Linked DNA regions of Homo sapiens: all the other regions are linked to region 2. Evidence: promoter capture Hi-C in 16 types of primary human blood cells and fetal thymus (Javierre and others, 2016). All regions are on one chromosome and are shown on one strand. The core of a region is centred on a gene start or on the middle of the fragment in contact, and the rest is flanking DNA. Distances in the headings are between cores, read along the strand shown.

Region 1 (4,556 bases), core at 747-3,246, 570 kb before region 2:
TGAGGGAGGTAGTGATCTGAGGGGGTCTCATGTCTGAGGCCATTTGGTCTTCTTAATCATTTACAAGAAAACAAGGCAGAAGTTGCAGCTGCATGCTGCGTGACTCAGACTACATAGCCACCCTCCACTTGAAGCTCAGAATAATTCAAATGTCCAACAGCTTTAAGTTTGAATTATTTAATTTCACAGGAGGTACATTTTTTGAAGACTTGTATGTGTAAAAATGTCTCTTTTCTACCCTTTTACTTGATAGCAAATTTGGCTAAATATGTAATTCTTGGTTAAACAAAAAATAACTTTCCCTTGGAAATTTGAAGGTATATCTCCATTATCTTCTACCTTCTATTTCCATGAGAAGTTTGATGCCATTCTTATTCACAATCTTCTATTCATTAGTTTTCTGTCTCCACTCTATTTCTCCACTCCTACCAGAGCTTTTAGAGACTTCTGTTTATCCCTAGGGTTTGAAATTTTGTAATAATAAGTCCTTTGTTGTCACTGGTTTATGTTATTTGATGGGAATTTTTTTTTTTTTTTTTTTTTTGAGACGGCGTCTCACTCTGTCACCAAGGCTGGAGTGCAGTGGCATGAGGATGGCCCATGGCAGCTTCGATCTCTTGGGCTCAGGTGATTCGTCTACCTCAGCCTCCCGGGTAGCTGGGACTACAGGAATGTGCCACCACGCCTAGCTAAGTTTTTGTATTTTTTGTAGAGACAGGGTTTCACTATGTTGCCCAGGCTGGTCTCGAACTCCTGTGCTCAAGCAATCCTCCTGCCTTGGCTTCCCAAAGTGCTGGGATTACAGGCGTGAGCCATCGTGCCTGGCCTTGTGGGATATTTGTTTGTTTGTTCATTTGTCTTTTACTCATTGGGCTAGATACCAAAAAGTTCTTTTTGAGAAAAGGCTCATGTTCTTCAGCTCTGAAAAATTCTCTTACGTTATTTTATTAATACTTTTCTCCACCAGTCTTTTCTGTTCTCTTTCTGGCACTCCTATTAATTAGTTGTCAGGCTTCCTGGATTGAGCATCTAATTTCTTATGTTTTCTCTCTTATTGTCCAATTATTTGCCACTTTGCTCTGGTTTTGGATTCCCTAACTATACCCTCTACTTTACTATTGAGATTTTCATTTCTGCCGTCTAATTTTTATTTTCCTGATGTTTTTGTTGTTGTTATTTGAATACTCTTAAGTTCATTTATATTTGAGAATGGGACACAGAAAAGCTGAGAGCTGGCCGGGCGCGGTGGCTCACGCCTGTAATCCCAGCACTTTGGGAGGCCGAGGCGGGCGGATCACGAGGTTAGGAGATCAAGACCATCCTGGCTAACATGGTGAAGCCCTGTCTCTGCTAAAAATACAGAAGAATTGGCTGGGCTTGGTGGCGGGCGCCTGTGGTCCCGGCTACTCGGGAGGCTGAGGCGGGAGAGTGGCATGAACCCGGGAAGTGGAGCCGAGATCGTGCCACTGCACTCCAGCCTGGGCGACAGAGCAAGACTCTGTCTCAAAAAAAAAAAAAAAAAAAAAAAAAAAAAAAAGCTGAGAGCTGTGTTTGTGAACAAGTGTGTCGAGAGTGATCAGGTGTGGGCAATGACCATTATCTCAGGGAACTCCCAAAGGCCAAAATGTGGAGGTCTTTTCTCTATGACTATTTAATTTCTCTAGAGGAGGAACCTGTAATTTCTTGCCTACCTGGTAGATAACCTTGCTGCTGTCCTTCTGAGAGAGGAAGAGAGAGTTGGGGTAGAGATGGGAAGAATAATAGTCTTGTTTCTTCTTGATCATCCTACAGCAAAGAAGAAAAAGTGACAAGCCACAATAACAAACCTAGACTTCCCAATTATCTGTTCAATACCTCGCTTTAAAAAATATGTACATTTGTACAGATAATCAGGGACACTAGATATCTGTTTTTACATCAGTTCTGTTTTCAGCCCCACTTCTTACTCTTGTCCACCAATGCATGTCCACTCTTTGCTCCCAAAGTTCTTCAGGGTTCTATCACTCAAATAATCTTCCTTTTTGCCCATAATTTCCTCTGGAAACCCTTTAAGATATGCCTACCTCTCACTCTACATCAACAACCACTCCTTTGGTGTTCATCAACTGATAGCCCTTCTACCCTTTATATCATCATTTGGGCTTACATATTTTCCTTTCATTAGCTGTCATTACAGAGGAGTCTCAAAAGAGACAAAAAATAAACAAGTGGATCAACTATTTTTCATCAAAAATATTTAGAAACAATAAGATCTTTTTGTAGAGGGTCATAGCGTGTTTTTTGTTTTTGTTTTTTGAGACAGAGTCTCACTCTGTCTCCCAGGCTGGAGTGCAGTGGCACAATCTTGGCTCACTGCCACCTTTGTCTCCTGGGTTCAAGCAATTCTCCTGCCTCATCCTCCCGAGTAGCTGGGACTACAGTCATGTGCCATCAAACCCGGCTAATTTTTTTTGTATTTTTAGTAGAGACATGGTTTCACCATGTTGGTCAGGCTCATCTCAGACTCCTGACCTCAAATGATCTGCCCGCCTTGGCCTCCCAAAGTGCTGGGATTATAAGCATGAGCCACCGCGCCCATAGTGTCTTAAGTGTCTTAAGCCCATAGTGTCTTAAGATTGCAGTCAAAGAGAAATACTTTAACGAAAGCAATATTCTGTATGAAAGCATATATGCTAAGTTATTCATTCTGGCTTTACTACCTGCTAGTTATATGATTTGGAGCAAATTATTGGATCTCTCAAGAGCCTCAGTTTCCTCCACTTTAAAACGCAATTCATAACACCTCAAGTATTGTCAAGAGTTATGAGCACATATAATATGTTCAGTCAATATAAGTTCCCTTTTTGCTTTGAAATGAACAAGTAAAAGATGACAAGGAGTGATAAAGCTCATCAAGACTGGACTTCTTTGGTAAAAGCAAAGCTCAAAAGAGTAGGTTGATGACCACTTTACTGAGTGACATCTTACTAGGGGGTCCATTGCAAAGAAAAGAGCATTTTCTTTTTGATGGGTTTTACTCAATTGTTTTCTTGTTAAGTGTTGCCTTTTAAAACCACACTGTTCCTTTCTCTTCCTCAAGCCATTTTCTCCCCTCTTTTTTCTGCTTCACTAGTCTTACTTGTTTGAAATAAAGAGAGATGAAGTGTGTCAGCCATGATCCCAGCAGAAAGCAGGCTTCACTTCAACTAGTTCCAAAGACAGGACTTTAGTAAGGGAATTTTTTTCAGAGATATGGATAAAGGAACCAACAAAGGTTATGGAGACACCCAGAGGCTAGCAAGCAAGGGTAGCCATGACCACATGAAGGGCAAAGGAGACAGCGGGGAGGAAATAGAATTCCTGGAGTCTGGTGAGAGCTGGAGATGGGAAGGTGCCATCCAGCAGAATCGATAGTTGTGGAGAGGTGTCACTACTATCAGAGGCCTAACACCAAAACAGAGAGGAAGAGGGGAACAAATAACCCATATGTTTCTCTTCTCCCACCTTCTGATCTCCTGCTAGGGTATCCCATTGGCTACTGGAAGCCAGTTGTCAAGAAAGCCTGGGATGCTGGGCACAGTGGCTCACGCCTGTAATCCCAGTACTTTGGGAGGCTGAGGTGGGCGGATCACCTGAGGTCAGGAGTTAAGACTAGCCTGGACAACATGGTGAAACCCTGTCTCTATTAAAAATACAAAAATTAGCCAGGCGTGGTGGTGGGCACCTGTAATCCCAGCTACTCGGGAGGCTGAGGCAAGAGAATCACTTGAATCTGGCAGGCGGAGGTTGCAGTGAGCTGAGATCATACCACTGCACTCCAGCCAGGGTGACAGGAGCGAGACTCTGTCTCAAAAAAAAAAAAAAAGAAAGAAAGAAAGAAAAGAAAGCCTGGGAGATATCCTCTCAGGGCCCTGAGCAGAGCTGAGAGAGCCTCTGCAGGGGACAAAAGGAGAATATCGGTATATGAAGATTCTAAAAATATCTGTTGCATTACTTGGGGGGGAATCAAGAAGTGTGAAAAGCCTAAACATTCTCAGTAATATAAAGTGGTTGAAATAGAAAACGTTAAGCCATCTTATGAAGAAAAAAATTATTCACTTTACCTTTGATGCCTGTCATATGTAGAAATAGATTAGAACAGAAATGCAGGAATTTCCATTTAGCAAATAATATTGTTTCATATTGCATGTTTCATGCCTTAAGGTGACTCCTAATTTATCACCTCAGTGAGGGAACCAACTGCCACTCAGGGAAAAAAACTCAAGAGCAAAGGAGTCAGCTCTGCCTTAGTGGAACAGACCAGGTTAAGGTGTCAAGCAACTGTTTCTATGAGCGCAATTTCAGGAAATGTCTCAGCCCTGTCGTGGATGTCTCTAAGGGTTTGTTTAAAAATTCAAATGCCATTGATTTATCTATTGTATGCTGAGAAATCCACTGTGCCTTCAGTCACAAATTCTAGATGATGCTTAGTTTAACTTGCTCCTGGAAGTGAGACAATTTATTCCTTGTATTTTACTTAAAGCCTAATGGTATGCCAGGCTGCTTTCCCCTTTATTGACACAAAAGATCTATTATAA
Region 2 (4,956 bases), core at 807-3,306:
GATTTCTAAATAAGAAAGGTCCATAAACGGTCCATATAAAACTCGCCTATATCTAGTAAGTTTCAGTGACCAAGAAAGATTACGTTGTTTTGTAAGACTTTTTTTTTTTTTTTGCCCACCTTCCTGAATTTGGAAAACTTTCTTAAAATCAGGCCTGGGCGCGGTGGCTCAAGCTTGTAATTTCAGCACTTTGGGAGGCCGAGGCAGGCGGATCACTAGGTCAAGAGATCGAGACCATCCTGGCCAACATGGTGAAACCCCGTCTCTACTAAAGGTATGAAAATTAGCTGGGCATGGCGGCGCACGTCTGTAGTCCCGGCTACTCGGGAGGCTGAGGCAGGAAAATCGCTTGAACCCGGGAGGCGGAGTTTGCAGTGAGTGGAGATCGCGCCACTGCACTCCAGCCTGGGCGACAAACTGAGGCTCCGTCTCAAAAACAAAACAAAACAAAAACACAAAATTAGCCGGGCATGGTGGCGCATGCCTGCCTCAGGAGGCTGAGGCAGGAGAATCGCTTGAACCCGGGAGGCGGAGATTTCGGTAAGCCGAGATCGCGGCATTGCACTCCAGCCTGGGCAACAAGAGCGAAACTCCGTCTCCACATAAATAAATAATCATTTTTGTAGGCAAATATAACAAATACAGCAAAACGTCATAGAATCTAGAAAGAGTATATATGCATATGTATCTATCACTTTTTCAACTTTTCTGTGTGTGAAAATTTTGGACACTGAAGTGAAAATAAACGCTTTCAAAGTCAGAATACAAAGAATTATCTATTGCAACTTCAACCCACCTGAAGCTTTGAGGCCTCTGATCAACTCACAAACCTACATTTCAAGCACTCGATGAAAAAGCCCTTTCTTAAGACGGCAAGACTTTGAGATTCATCAACTGATAAAATATAAAAGCGATACTAAAAATAATCTCTCACCTAATGTAAGTTCACCTAGAAAGTCATTTACCAGGAGGTTTCATGAGAAACTTAACTTAACTTTACTCAGTAAAAGAGCTTTTCCCTCTATTACCACTTCGCCTACGTTTTTCGTAATTCCCAACAGTAAGCTTTAACTGAAGAAGAAGAAAAAAAAAACATCCCCAGCAAGCAGATCCGGGCACCCCTCCCAGGTCCTAAAGCCTGCAAAAACCCAAAGAGTTCGTGGCGCTGGTGGCTCCAGCTGTTAGTTTCCCGGGCAGTCTCCGGGTTGGATTTGCACCCTGGGGTCTACACGGGTTAAAAACGCGGAAAAAAGGCGACGAAGAAATACAAACTGCCAGGGTGTCGAAATGAAAGGAGCGACTGTGAAAGGGGTAAGGAAAAATCCAAGCCATCTCTACGGGGAGGATCCAGAAAGCACCAGCCGCGCCAGGGGGTCAACCAACTCCGACACCGCTCGGCGTCAGCTGGGCGCCACCAGGCGCGGACTTCGGAGCGAGGGCAGGTGCGCGGGCCGGAAGCCTCGGGCGCTCACCTGGCACCTACCTGGAGCTCACCTGGCGCCCGGGCCCCGCGCCGCCGCCCCCCGCCCAGCCCGCCGCGCCCGCACCTCGCGGTCCTTGAGGCCCAGCAGGAGCACTTCCTCCATCAGGGTCAGCCGCGTTTCCTTGGAGTCGCCCTTGTCGTCGTCGTCCTGCTCGTCGCGGCGGCTCTGCGCGTCGTCCTCGCTGCTGCCGGCGCCGCCGCCCGCCGCCCGCTCCTTGTCGGCGGCGTTGCGGGAGGCCTCGGTGCGCCGCTGCACCAGGCCGGAGCTGCGCTGGGTCAGCGAGGTCATGGCTCCCGCCGAGGCGCCGAGCCGGGCCGAGAGGGTCGCAGGACCGACCGGGTCGCCCTCCTCCTCCCCGCGCGGCCTCCGATCCGGGTTTCCGTGTTAAATCCGGACGCCGGGGCGACGTCCGTCGGCAGCAGGGCCGGGGGCAGTCATGAGGAAACAGGTCAGGGCGAAGCGGGCTGGCCGGGCGTCGGCGGGGCAGGAGAGGAGCGCCTTCCTGCCTGTGGCCGCAGTCCCCGAAACACCCCGAGCTCCAAGGCGGAGGCGGCGGCGGCGCCTTTCCAATATGGCGGCCCCGGCTGACGTCACCGGAGGATGTGGCAGAGTCGGCGCGGGAGAGCTGGGCCGGGAGGCGCCGGAAGCGGCGGCCGGGGATCCGCTGCCACTGCAGCCTACACCCTTCCCGGCCCTCGGTGCTTGTCTTTTCTTTGGCGTTCCTGCGCCCCCTGACCCGCGGTCCTGCAGTCCTGCTCCCGTGACGTGCCCTCCCTCCTTCCGTTCCCCGTTTCCCCTTCACTACCCAGGGCTGGAGCCTGAACCTGGCGGGGCCCCCCGTGAATGGAAGAGCCTGGGCCACGCGAAGGTGGACCCCACTCAGCCTCCAGCCGTGCCCTCCACGCCCCAGACACCGCCGTCTTCGGAGGCGACTCCGCGGTCGTGTGGACGGGGTCCCATTTGGACTCCGGGGTCTGCAGGATCGGCAGGAAGGACTTTGCTCTCTGCTGCTGGGCGGGGAGGGGTACGCTATCTGCCGGGACTCCCTAACCCTTTAGAAGGAGCAAGTGCGTCCAAATGGTTTGAAAGTGGACCTTTATTGTTTTCCAGGAGTAAGAAGATAGAACAGTTGACCAGTTTTGTTTGTAAAACTTCTTTCCTTGCCTCGGACTTGTGCTATAAAGTGACCAGGGCGTAGTGAGTACAGTTAGTACCGCACACGTTAGCACGCTCGACCTTAACGATCTTTTTATAGAGACAATAAACCTGCAGCGTTTCATGCCACGTCTTTGTACGCATCGGATGTCTCTCCGTGTAGTTACTAGGTGAAATCCTCTTGGCGTGCGCAAATTAGGTTAAAAAAATAGCTGTCAAACCTGAGACAGGAGTTGGAGGAGTAGAGGGTGGCGCTTGTTAAGTGAAACATTTAACCAGGAATGGTATTGTGTGCCATCCTGTATTAAACAATGTATGGACAGAGTGGAACAACAGCAAAGCAAAAAATAAAAATTTTTTAAAAAAAGTGATCATGGGCTGTGGCTAAAGAGTGCTTTAGATGGATTCTTCTCTTCCACAAATCCATTATCCAGAACTGCTGCTGCCTACCATCCCATGCCCTGGAAAGTGACAGTGCTAAATGAAGGGAAGAGAGGGTCCAGGGGGCACACCAAGTAGACCTTCCCTTTTTCCCACCTGTCTTGGTGAAGGTCGATTTCACCTCAACCAATTTCTCCCATTCACACCCTCTTTTTTTTTTTTTTTTTTTTTTTTTTGAGACGGAGTCTTGCTCTGTTGCCCAGGCTGGGGTGCAGTGGCACAATCTCGGCTCACTGCAAGCTCTGCCTCCCGGGTTCACGCCATTCTCCTGCCTCAGCCTCCTGAGTAGCTGGACTACAGGCGCCCGCCACCACGCCTGGCTAATTTTTTGTATTTTTAGTGGAGACGGGGTTTCACCGTGTTAGCCAGGATGGTCTCGATCACCTGACCTCGTGATCCGCCGGCCTTGGCCTCCCAAAGTGCTGGGATTACAGGCGTGAGCCACCGCGCCAGCCCACACCCTCTTTGGACCTTTTTTCTTCATCTTTTCTGATTTTACCAAATGTTGTAGCTTGAAATATTTCTTTGTAAAATAAATGTAATTAATTTATTATGTGAAAAAAGTTAATCAGGAGTAGTGGCCCACATCTGTAGTCCCAGGTCTTCGGGAGGCTGAGGCAGGAGAACCGCTTGAGCCCAGAATTTGAGGCTGCCATGAGGGTGATCGTGCCACTGCACACCAGCCTGAGAGACAGAGCAAGACCCTGTCTCAAAAAAAAAAAAAAAAAATTGGCTGGGCGCGTTGGCTCACGCCTGTAATCCTAGCACTTTGGAAGGCCAAGGCGGACGGATCAGGAGGTCAGGAGATCGAGACCATCCTGGCTAACACGGTGAAACCCCGTCTCTACTAAAAATACAAAAAATTAGCCGGGCGTGGTGGCGGGCCCCTGTAGTCCCAGCTACTCGGGAGGCTGAGGCAGGAGAATGGCGTGAACCCCGGAGGCGGAGCTTGCAGTGAGCAGAGATTGCGCCACTGCACTCCAGCCTGGGTGACAGAGCGAGACTCCGTCTCAAAAAAAAAAAAAAATTACTTGACTAATATAGTCAAGTATGTAGTTCAAAGAGTACAAAGATATGTGTAGTGAAAATCTCCCTCCCAGCTCTGCCCCTGTTCACCCAGTTGTTCTCCTTTCTCTCCTGAAGGTTTTAATGCCAACAAATCCTCTGATACTCCTCCCCTCAAAATGTGAAGCCTAATTTCCCTCCCCCTGAGTGTGGGCCAGACTTAGTGACTCTCTTGAAATGAATAGAATGTGGCCAACATGACTGTGTGGCACTTCTCAGGTCATGAAAGTCTATGCAGCTTTTTTCCTCCCCAGCTGCCCTCCACCCCCAGCCATCATGATGGGTGGGGGTGGAGGGCAGCTGGGGAAGAAGTGAGGGAGGAAGGAAGGAGATATTTTAAAAACAGGAAGAGGAAGAAAGGATATTTTAGGAAGGAAAAAAGAAGGAATTTTAGGAATGAGAATATTCCTAATTACAACAATGAGTGTTACTTTTTAAAAAATTTTTATTTATTTATTTATTTATTTTTGAGACAGAGTCTCATTCTGTCGCCCAGGCTGGAGTGCAGTGGCGTGATCTCGGCTCACTGCAACCTCCACCTCCAGGTTCAAGCAATTCCCCTGCCTCAGCCTGCCGAGTAGCTGGGATTACAGGCACATGCCACCACGCCCAGCTAATTTATTTATTTATTTATTTATTTATTTTTTTGAGACGGAGTTTTGTTGCCCAGGCTGGAGTGCAATGGCGCAATCTCGGCTCACCGCAACCTCTGCCTCCCAGGTTCAAGCGATTCTCCTGCCTCAGCCTCCCGAGTAACTGGGATTACAGGCATGTGTCACCACGCCTGGCTAATTTTGTATTTTTAGTAGAG
Region 3 (4,365 bases), core at 196-2,695, 540 kb before region 2:
TCTTGTGTAAACCAAAATAAAGACAAAGGCCAAGTATAAAACAAAACCTATGTGTGTGTATAACTAAAACAGCTCTCTTTAGATATACTGATAGCAGAGTACTGGTTATGCTAATCAAAACTGAACCTCTGTCTTTCTATCTTTTTTTTTAGTAGGTTTGTTTTGCTAGTGTCTTTTTTTTTTTGAGATGGAGTCTTGCTGTGTCTCCCAGGCTGGAGGGCAGTGGTGCGATCTTGGCTCACTGCAACCTCTGCCTCTCAGGTTCAAGCGATTCTCCTATCTCAGTCTCCTGAGTAGCTGGGATTACAGGCACCTGCCACCACACCCAGCTAATTTTTATATTTTTAGTAGAGATGAGGTTTCGCCATGTTGGCCAGGCTGGTCTTGAACTCCTGACCTCAGGTGATCCACTCAGCTCGGCCTCTCAAAGTGCTGGGATTACAGGCGTGAGCCACCACGCCAGGCCTGTCTTGCTGGTGTCTTAATGTGTGTTAAGCAAGTAAACTCAAAGGTAAATCAAATCCCACCACAGTCCAAAAGAATCTACTTGGATAAACACTACACTCTACCCTATTGCAAAATGATTGAATCATCTATATAAATTGTGAAAGTCATACGTGGTCTGTAGTTACTAGTTTGTAATTCAGTTTTTTCTGCCAAAAATTGTATAAAAAAATTACCGTGGCAACCAATGCTTCAATAGTACAAATGGAAGGCTGAGAGACAAAGATATAAAATAATGGGTTGGCTTGTAAGGGGAAGCCCAGGAGAAAATTACAAATTCTTCACGTGCAGTATTATTAGACCACACTGGAAACAATAAAACACATTTGCATAAAATCCAACGTCACGCTCATGGATACAGTGAAACTCATTTTCAATGTACGTGGATGAAAAGTGCTTACTTAAACCTTTCCCCTAAATATATATTTTAAGACAGTATGGGCTGGGTGCAGTGGCTCACGCCTGTAATCCCAGCACTTTGGGAGGCCGAGGCAGGCGGATCACCTGAGGTCAGGAGTTTGAGACCAGCCTGGCCAACATGGTGGAACCCTGTCTCTACTAAAAATACAAAAATTAGCTGGGGGTGGTGGTGGGCACCTGTAATCCCAAGTACTCAGGAGGCTGAGGCAGGAGAATCACTTGAACCCAGGAGGCAGAGGTTGCAGGGAGCCAAGATCGCGCCATTGCACTCCAGCCTGGGCAAAAAGAGCGACACTTCATCTCAAAAAAAAAAAAAAAGAAAGAAAGAAAGAAAAAGAAAAAAACCAGTATGCATCAAATGCAGGTCCTTTTTTGTGTTTTGGCTAAATAAAATATTTCATCTGAGACGGGATAAATATTACAACATTTTTATCAATGTTTAAAATAAAGTCTTATCTCTACAGTACTATGACCAAGTACTGGAATGTGACCTTGGGCACCCTCTCAGCTGTCATGTCACTCTACTTCAGTGTTTCTCCAAGTTATCCTGTGTGGGCCACCCAAATTACAATCACTGGGGTTCTGGTTAAGGGGCATCCAGGGGCTCCCCAAAGACCAAGTATATAGTGATCTCAGGGGGTGAGTCTGGAGTTTTTTAAATTTTCAAACTTCTGGGAATCCTTAAGTGTAGTCCAGACTGAGATCCACTGACTTAATGTTTTACTACCATCGTCACTCATTTGTTCTTTTTCTTTGAGACGGAGTCTTGCTCTGACTCCCAGAGAGGAGTACAGTGGCGTGATCTTGGCTTACTGCAAACTTCACCTCCCAGGCTCAAGCAATTCTCCTGCCTCAGCCTCCCCAGTAGCTGGGATTACAGGCGCCCGCTATCATGCCCAGCTAACTTTTGCATTTTTAGCAGAAGCTGGGTTTCACCCTGTTGGCCAGGCTGGTCTCGAACTCCTGACCTCAAGTGATCCGCCCCTCTCGGCCTTCCAAAGTGCTGGGATTACAGGCATGAGCCAGGGCACTTGGCCTCATTTGTTCTTTTTAAGCCCCTTTCTTGGCCAGGAGATGGCTCGTTCTAGCGTGAGGTCATGAATGGAAGAGTTAGTGGCCAGGAATTTGTGGAAGAAAGAAAAAAGGGTAATTCGCTAGGTAAACAGGAAGCTAGAATCTGTTTTGGAGATAAAATGAACCCACAGAGGCTGGGAGGAGAAAGGGAATTGAGCCAGTTGTTGACTAAGGCTACTTCTCCTCCCTTGAAATTTACTTGGAAGAGCAGCTGAGGCGGAAAGATGGAAAGCAGTCTTTTCAAGAGTTGGTAAGCAAACCTCCAGTTTTAGTTTCAGCTGCCTGGTCTGTAGATTTTTCTTCATAGAGGGAGAAAGCTCAGAAGTAAACCACATGGCACTGCAATCCATGAGAATCTACTTGGACTCACCTAAACCACGCTACATTCTGTCACTGATATAGCTTGGGATCACACATTTTTTCTTTGTTTATCATTTTAATCTTCCTTTGCTCTGAAGTCTTAGATATTCTATATACAGCCTCCTCCTCCTCCACATCACATATATTATGAGCACTAAATTAAAATGGCAACTTTGATAGAAATACTAATCTGTGACTAAATGTTTAACAAGGGGGCAAAAAGGATTTACATTTTGATCTTCAAACATTGGAAAATAAATGCCCTCAGTTGTCAGCTTTCCAAATTGACAAGACTGCAAGGGCAAAACAAAATTTCCATGCATTTGATTGACCTCTGTGAATTGAGCTATTATTAGCAGATAAGAACTTGCCAAAAATATCTGGAAAATATCAGCTGAAAAGTGATTGAAACGAAGTATTTAAAGCAGGTCAGCAGGGCCATGTCTGAAGGAGACAGATTATAAAATACATCTGTATATATTGTATTTATACATAATATATGCCACATATAACATACATGTATATACCTAACAATTCATTTTAATTCAGCAAATATTTATTGAGTGGCTATTGGGTCGGACACCATGCCACCCTAGGCTTTGGGAACACAAACAATAAGCTTTAAGTTCTCTTACCTCCAAGAACTCACAAGCTAGAAATATGTGAGACAAAACGCCATAATTCCTACAACATAATACACCTGACAAGGGTTAGATGAGCAATTTGCATAAAGTGCTACCATTGCAGCAATTAACAAGGCAGAGGAAACGTGATGTTTGTTCTGATGATCAGAGAAGCCTTTCCAGTAGAGATGACATTTACCTCCTTGGGATTTCAGCAGACACAGGAGAGTGAGAATGTCACTCTGGCAGAGGAAACAGAATTTACAGATTAGGAGTACATGGCTGGAATGAAAGAGTTGGGGATGGAGTGGATAAGAAATAGCAGTGACTACAGTTTGAGTGATACATTTATTTGCATATTCATTGATTCAGCAAACTTTTCATTGGTGCTGAGGGAGGTAGGCCCAAGGTATGTGCTGGGTACAGAGGCTGAGAAAACACGGGACAGAGTGGTGGAAGATGGGCCTGGGATTGTGGAAAAAACAGAAAGCACCAGCCCTGTTTGATCCTTCTAGAAGGATTTTTTTGTAGTGTCCCAATGATACCTTTCATTGATAATGGTTACCATTTCATTGAGCACCTCCTAAGTGCTGTGCTGAATAGCTGTGTTACTGCTAGTTCCAGCAATCCTGCATGGTAGGTGTTTTCTCTATTTACACATAGGAAGAGAAGCTCTGAGTGCCTGAGTGCCCAGCTTGTCATATACGATGCTTGGATTTGTGCAAGCATTGATCTCAATGGCCTGGTAATTATAAAAGCTGAAGAACAGCTGAAATCAAGAACTTCTCCACCCCAGCCCCTGAGGACAATACCACCTCCAAATGCCTTGGGCCCACTCTGGTCTCTGGTGTGGTGGGACAGCGCTGTCCGGTCTGCGCAGGTGATTTATGTCTGCCTGCTTTTCGGAGAGGCCAGAGTTTATTGCCTTGCTGGGCAGAACTGCAGCTGGGGCCTGCCCTGTCCCATCCCCATCCCCCCGAAAGCAAAGATTTCCAATTACTGTTCTGTAGAAAATGTCAAAAGCATTATTCAACTATTCATTATCCCAGGTTTTGCAATTTTTCATATGTTTTTACTCTTATCTGCCAGCACTTGAAAAAGACCAGCTTTTTCCTCTTAAGAGAGCTTAATTTGCAGAGCTGTGCAGTCTTCCTATTATGTTCTTATCATCCTCTCCCTTTGGTAGGCAGAATGACAAGGATGACAAAAAAAGAACCAAAAATATTTGAAGGCCTTCCTGAAAATCCACCGGAATGAAGGATCCCAAAAGCCTGAGGCTCGGTTCCTCGAGTGACCTGGACGGGAGCCAAGGGCGGCTGGCATTAGCTCTCACAGTCCACTCGGCAGGAGCTCGTGGCTAGTGCTCATGGGACCAAAACCACCA
Region 4 (4,769 bases), core at 1,606-4,105, 650 kb before region 2:
TAAGAAATGAGTCCTTAGGTGATTTCATCACTGTACAAACATCACAGTGTGCCTACACAAACTTAGATGGTATAGCCTACTACACACCTCGGACAGGCGGTATAGCCTGTTGCTACTAGGCTACAAACCTGTACAACATGTGACTGCACTGAATGCTGTGGGCAACTGTAACACAGTGGTAAATATTTATGTAACTAGACATATTTGAACATAGAAAAGGTCCAGTAAAAAAATAAGGTATTATAATCTTTGGGACCAACATTGTATACAGTCTGTCACTGAAATGCCATGTGGTACGTGACTATATTGTGAAGAAAACTGGTATTTTTACGACATGGTCATCCACTACGGGAAAAGGACATACCTTCCTTTTATTACATCACCTTCTTTGTCATCAGCTACATTTTATAGTTTTCTTCCCATTGGTCCTATGCATTACAAGATGCTTAAATTATTTGTTAATAACTTTCCATAGTGAATTTTAATTTGTCTTTGCATTACATTTTCTAACCAGGTAGTCCTTTTTACTTAAAAGGCTGTTAAAATACTGTCAGGTAATAACGGCAACTCTTAGCTCCTAGGGACTCTTTTTGGTTTGTTTTGGTGCTTACTCTGAGGCTGGCACCCTGCTAAGCACTTTACTGACATTTCACATTTAATCCTGACAGCAAGCCTAGGAGGCAGATATTAACATCCCCTACAAAGGAGGCAACAGCTTTGAAAATCAGTCACTTGCCTAATACGATAAAGCTAAAAGTGGTAGTTAAATGCTAATATGGTTGATACAGACATTTCATCATGTTCTAAAAAGAAATTCCACCAAATGTTTTATTGCCAAGAAACACAGGCAAAAGACATCCTCACCCATCCTTTTAAGCAGGCGTTGTGAATGATGTAATGAATGGTCAGGGTCAGTTGTTGTGAACATCAGTTAATATTTTTTTTAACACTTTGAGAAGGGCATTTCAACACAGAAACAAAAGATCTTTTTTAGGTAAGTGTCTCAGGCACTCCAAAATTCAAAATCCAAACTCCCAATGTTTCTTCTTACCAATATGCCACAGTGCAAACTGGTAAATTTTCCCCCTCACAGTATTTCCATTTCTAATTTTTATTTTCTGCTGCGTTAGTCAGAACTTACAGAATTCAAGTCTACCTTCTCTGCAAGCTACCAGGCATTAGAGAAGAAACCATTAAACCGAGGCTATTTCCAGCACTTATACATTAAAAATCATCCACCTCAAATAGGTCCTCAATGATGTCCACTGACACAATACTCTGGCTTTTCTCCTGTCTCCTCTCCTCCTCCTCAGGCCCTCTTGTCATCTTTCCTAATTAATCCCATCTAACCCATGGCATTTCATCCTTCCTAATTAATCTCATCTAATCCAGAGCAACATGTAAGTGTCCTATCAAACGCACTTACAGCACTTAACTTTCCTTTTCCTATTAAGTGGGGGCCTTTGTTAATGCCTATATCACCCATACCAGTACAATACCCGGGACACACAAAAACACCATGTTTTTAATTACCATGTTGATTGTATCACAAGGATATTCAGTAACAACGATAAGCAATGGGGCCTCCTTGCCTTTTTTCAAATTTGTATGGGAAAGGCCTGCAGGTTTCAACACCACATTTGACTCTTTGGGGATGGTATCCATCAGGTTCATCGTGAGCTACCATTCTTCATCATGTTAAAGACAACTGTTAATATTTCTAGTTTACTAGTTTTTACTCACATATGGATGCTGATTTTAGTTTAAATACCTAAAAGGTAAGTACTGAGATAACCCTACAGATTTTGACACATACAATACAGATTTTCTAATATTAACTTTTCTATCCATGCAGTCTTGGAATAAACTCTATCTGTTATTTTAACAAACTACTGAAAACATTTGCTAATATCCTAATTCGTGTTTTTATATCCATATTTGTAAGAGAGATTGCTGTGTCGTTTTTGTGTCATTTTTTTTCCCTTGGTTAGGTTTTGCCATCTGGTTTTTCCTGCTACTACAGAATGAGCTGAGCTTTCCTTCCATCTTTTTTTAGTGTTCAAGACCACTTTAAAGCTTTTTTTAGAGGTGGTGCAAAGTAAGCTTTTTCCATTTTTCGAGTTATTGACCTATTAAAGTTTTCTGCTTCTTGTGTGAAATTATTTTTGTTTTCTTAGAAATCAACCCATCACATTCAAGTTAATTTTTTAAACGGTTTTAAATTTTTTAATTTCTTTTCATTCCTGTAACAATACACTTTCTCAAACCTAATGTTATGTAGATTTTTCTTTTATTTCCCACTTTAAAAATTGTATTTGCATTTACTTACAATATAGTTATATCACTGTAGTTCTATTTCCATTTCATTAATTTATCTTTAAATCCCTTTTTCTGCTTTTCTTAAGCTCCACCAATTTCTATAGCCAAGTGCTCAGATAATAATTATATACATAGTTACCATTTATTTGGCACTTACTTCAGGCCCAGTTCTAAGTGTTTGACATGCATTATCTCAATGACCCCTTATCACTCAAGAAGGTACATATAACTGTCCTTATTTTACAAACGAAGACACTGATAACTTTGCCCAGTAATAAAATTGGGAGAGCTAATAACTGACCCCGAATCTGTCAGATTCTAGAGTGCTGTTCTTCATTACCATCATATTAATGTAAGACCACAAAATTTTACTTCGGGATATAGAATTGATTACACCCTTTAAGTTTTGGGTGATAGCAATCTCAATGTCATTTTCTAATGAAAATATGACTGCAGTTTTGCTCTTTTTTTCTGAAACATGTAAATTTAAGAGCATAATTATGAATTTCCAAGGTTTTTTAAAATGATTAATGTATAGTTTTATAGCACTGTGGTCAGAAAAAGTGGTCTGTATAATTTCTAATTTTTGGAAATTTATCAAGATTTTCCTTGTGCATAATCAATGCATCTTGAAAGTAAAGTCTTTTAAATTACAGTCTGCTTTAGCTTTTCACAGGTCATCTTGGACAGACTCTGAGGCCATTATGAAGACTTGGCTGTTGCTCCATACAAGCACAAAATCTGAATTCAAGGAGATAATCCTATGACTTCTTTCAGTGTCAACTCCTTGCTTACCTTCCAGATCTCTTATACTCTTTTTTGTAGGACCTTTCCAGAGATGGTGATCTTCGGTTGTCTCGATGCCTGTGTCTCTCCCGTTCTCGCTCTCTTAAAGGAATTAATACACAGAGCTGTTTTCAACAGAAAGACTCAAAAACACCATCTCTTTTCACTGAATTCATCTTGTAAATAAATGGACCACATCTAGGAATTTTTCAGGCACTGTTCACTGGGGGACATTTTTATGCCTTCTTAATTTATTAGAGGATAAAGGAGCTTTTCACTTTACAGAAGTTAACTAACTTGGAGAATTTTTGCAGTTTTCTTTAAAGAAAGAAGTCATACATGATGCTACGCAATAATGGGAATTTTATCCTAATCTTCCCTTAAAACCTTGCAATCAGCCAATCCTTGGTTATTTAACCTAGAGGGAAAACTCTAAAGAACTCCACATCCTATTGATTTCTAAAAAATGCTCTATTTTACCTATCAAATAAATGTAAATTATAAAGCTTTTATAGTGAAAATTAGGACAAGGTTCTATAATGAAAGAGCTCTTAATGCTTATGGCTTATAGGCTTGAGTTGTAGATCTAGCTATCACTAACCTGCCATGAGGCCATGACTAAGTCACTTGAATGCTATTTTTCATCTGGAAAAAAAACTAAATAGAGATGTTGGGCTTACTTAATGTAAAAAAAAATAGATGAGGAATTTTTAAAACCTTCCAATGTAAAACTGGGGTTTAATAATATTAATAGCTTTTGAGCCTATTTAACAATGAGGACCTAGAAGAGAAATCTGAACTCTAGTGTGTCTGAATCAGAACTACAAGTCTAAAGGAAGTAACCTTCCAATCTTAGAACAGGAAAAATAAAATGCTATATTAACCTGAGTCCAGAAAGAAGACCATTAAAATGTTTGAACTCAAAAATATCCCCCAACCTATCACCAAACAGAAATGTCAATACATTGAAAATAGAACTTACAAAACTGACAGAGATCGGTGAGTGCTTAGGTATTAAAATAGAAATTGCTTTCCACTTAAAGATTCCCCTGTTCTAAAGGAAGACTCCTTTGAATAATGTTTCTGATATATATACAATCCTCAGATATATACCAGCTATCCCAAATAAAGCAGCCAGAGATTTGGATTCTACATTCTTCATCTCATACACTTCTAAAATCAGAGTTTACATTTGGGCAGTAAATCTTAGTTATTGTATAGAAATTAGTGAACCATGCCACATGTCAAAGATATATGTAATTTGTAATGGCACGGCTGTTGAAAAAAATAATTGCGTACATTTCCAAATAAAAACTCTAATTAGAGGATATTTCTAATATATTTTTTTTTACCATATAGCCAATAGAATTTTGCATTTAAGAATAACACTTCTAATGATGACTGGTACCTCTGAGTGGGTAGGACTTGAAAAGACCAATTTGGATATAAATCACATTAGTAACACTATTAAGACAAATTCTTTTAAAGCAAGAAAAGCTATGTTTGTGTTACTTTTCCCAAGATTCTTCCTTGTTTGCAAACATTAAGATATTCCTTAGGTACATTAGGGTAGTTCTCCAGTAGCTACACATTTACTGTCACAAGGTCAGCCATGAGAATTCTTGCGTGGTAGCACTCCCTAGCTAGGTGAAGCCCAGGGCACA

What was found. Contacts are between HindIII fragments. The CHiCAGO score rates a contact against its expected background, and 5 or more counts as called.
Region 1: a fragment that was not itself captured here is called in contact with the fragment with the promoter of GOLPH3 in region 2 in 1 of 17 cell types (M0 macrophages); the score reaches 5.7 in M0 macrophages.
Region 3: a fragment that was not itself captured here is called in contact with the fragment with the promoter of GOLPH3 in region 2 in 2 of 17 cell types (activated CD4 T cells and non-activated CD4 T cells); the score reaches 7.8 in activated CD4 T cells.
Region 4: a contact is called between a fragment that was not itself captured here and the fragment with the promoter of GOLPH3 in region 2, in 8 of 17 cell types (naive CD4 T cells, total CD8 T cells, total CD4 T cells and 5 more). The highest score is 13.5, in naive CD4 T cells.

What each region holds. Positions count from the first base shown.
Region 1 is chr5:31,600,142-31,604,697 of GRCh38, forward strand. No RefSeq gene overlaps it. Among named protein-coding and RNA genes, the nearest start is that of PDZD2, 37 kb to the right of the region's middle. The HindIII fragment of the contact is 6,111 bases long and covers 1-4,556 here.
Region 2 is chr5:32,172,263-32,177,218 of GRCh38, forward strand. GOLPH3 (golgi phosphoprotein 3) reads right to left here and starts at 2,057. Exons shown (of 4, transcript NM_022130.4): 1 at 1,548-2,057. The coding sequence starts at 1,772. RefSeq lists a silencer at 1,341-1,950. The HindIII fragment of the contact is 5,568 bases long and covers 1,064-4,956 here.
Region 3 is chr5:31,634,208-31,638,572 of GRCh38, forward strand. No RefSeq gene overlaps it. Among named protein-coding and RNA genes, the nearest start is that of PDZD2, 2.7 kb to the right of the region's middle. The HindIII fragment of the contact is 3,059 bases long and covers 1-2,975 here.
Region 4 is chr5:31,518,009-31,522,777 of GRCh38, forward strand. It overlaps DROSHA (drosha ribonuclease III), which reads right to left. Exons shown (of 36, transcript NM_001382508.1): 6 at 3,115-3,207. Among named protein-coding and RNA genes, the nearest start is that of DROSHA, 12 kb to the right of the region's middle. RefSeq lists an enhancer at 4,170-4,339. The HindIII fragment of the contact is 1,508 bases long and covers 2,102-3,609 here.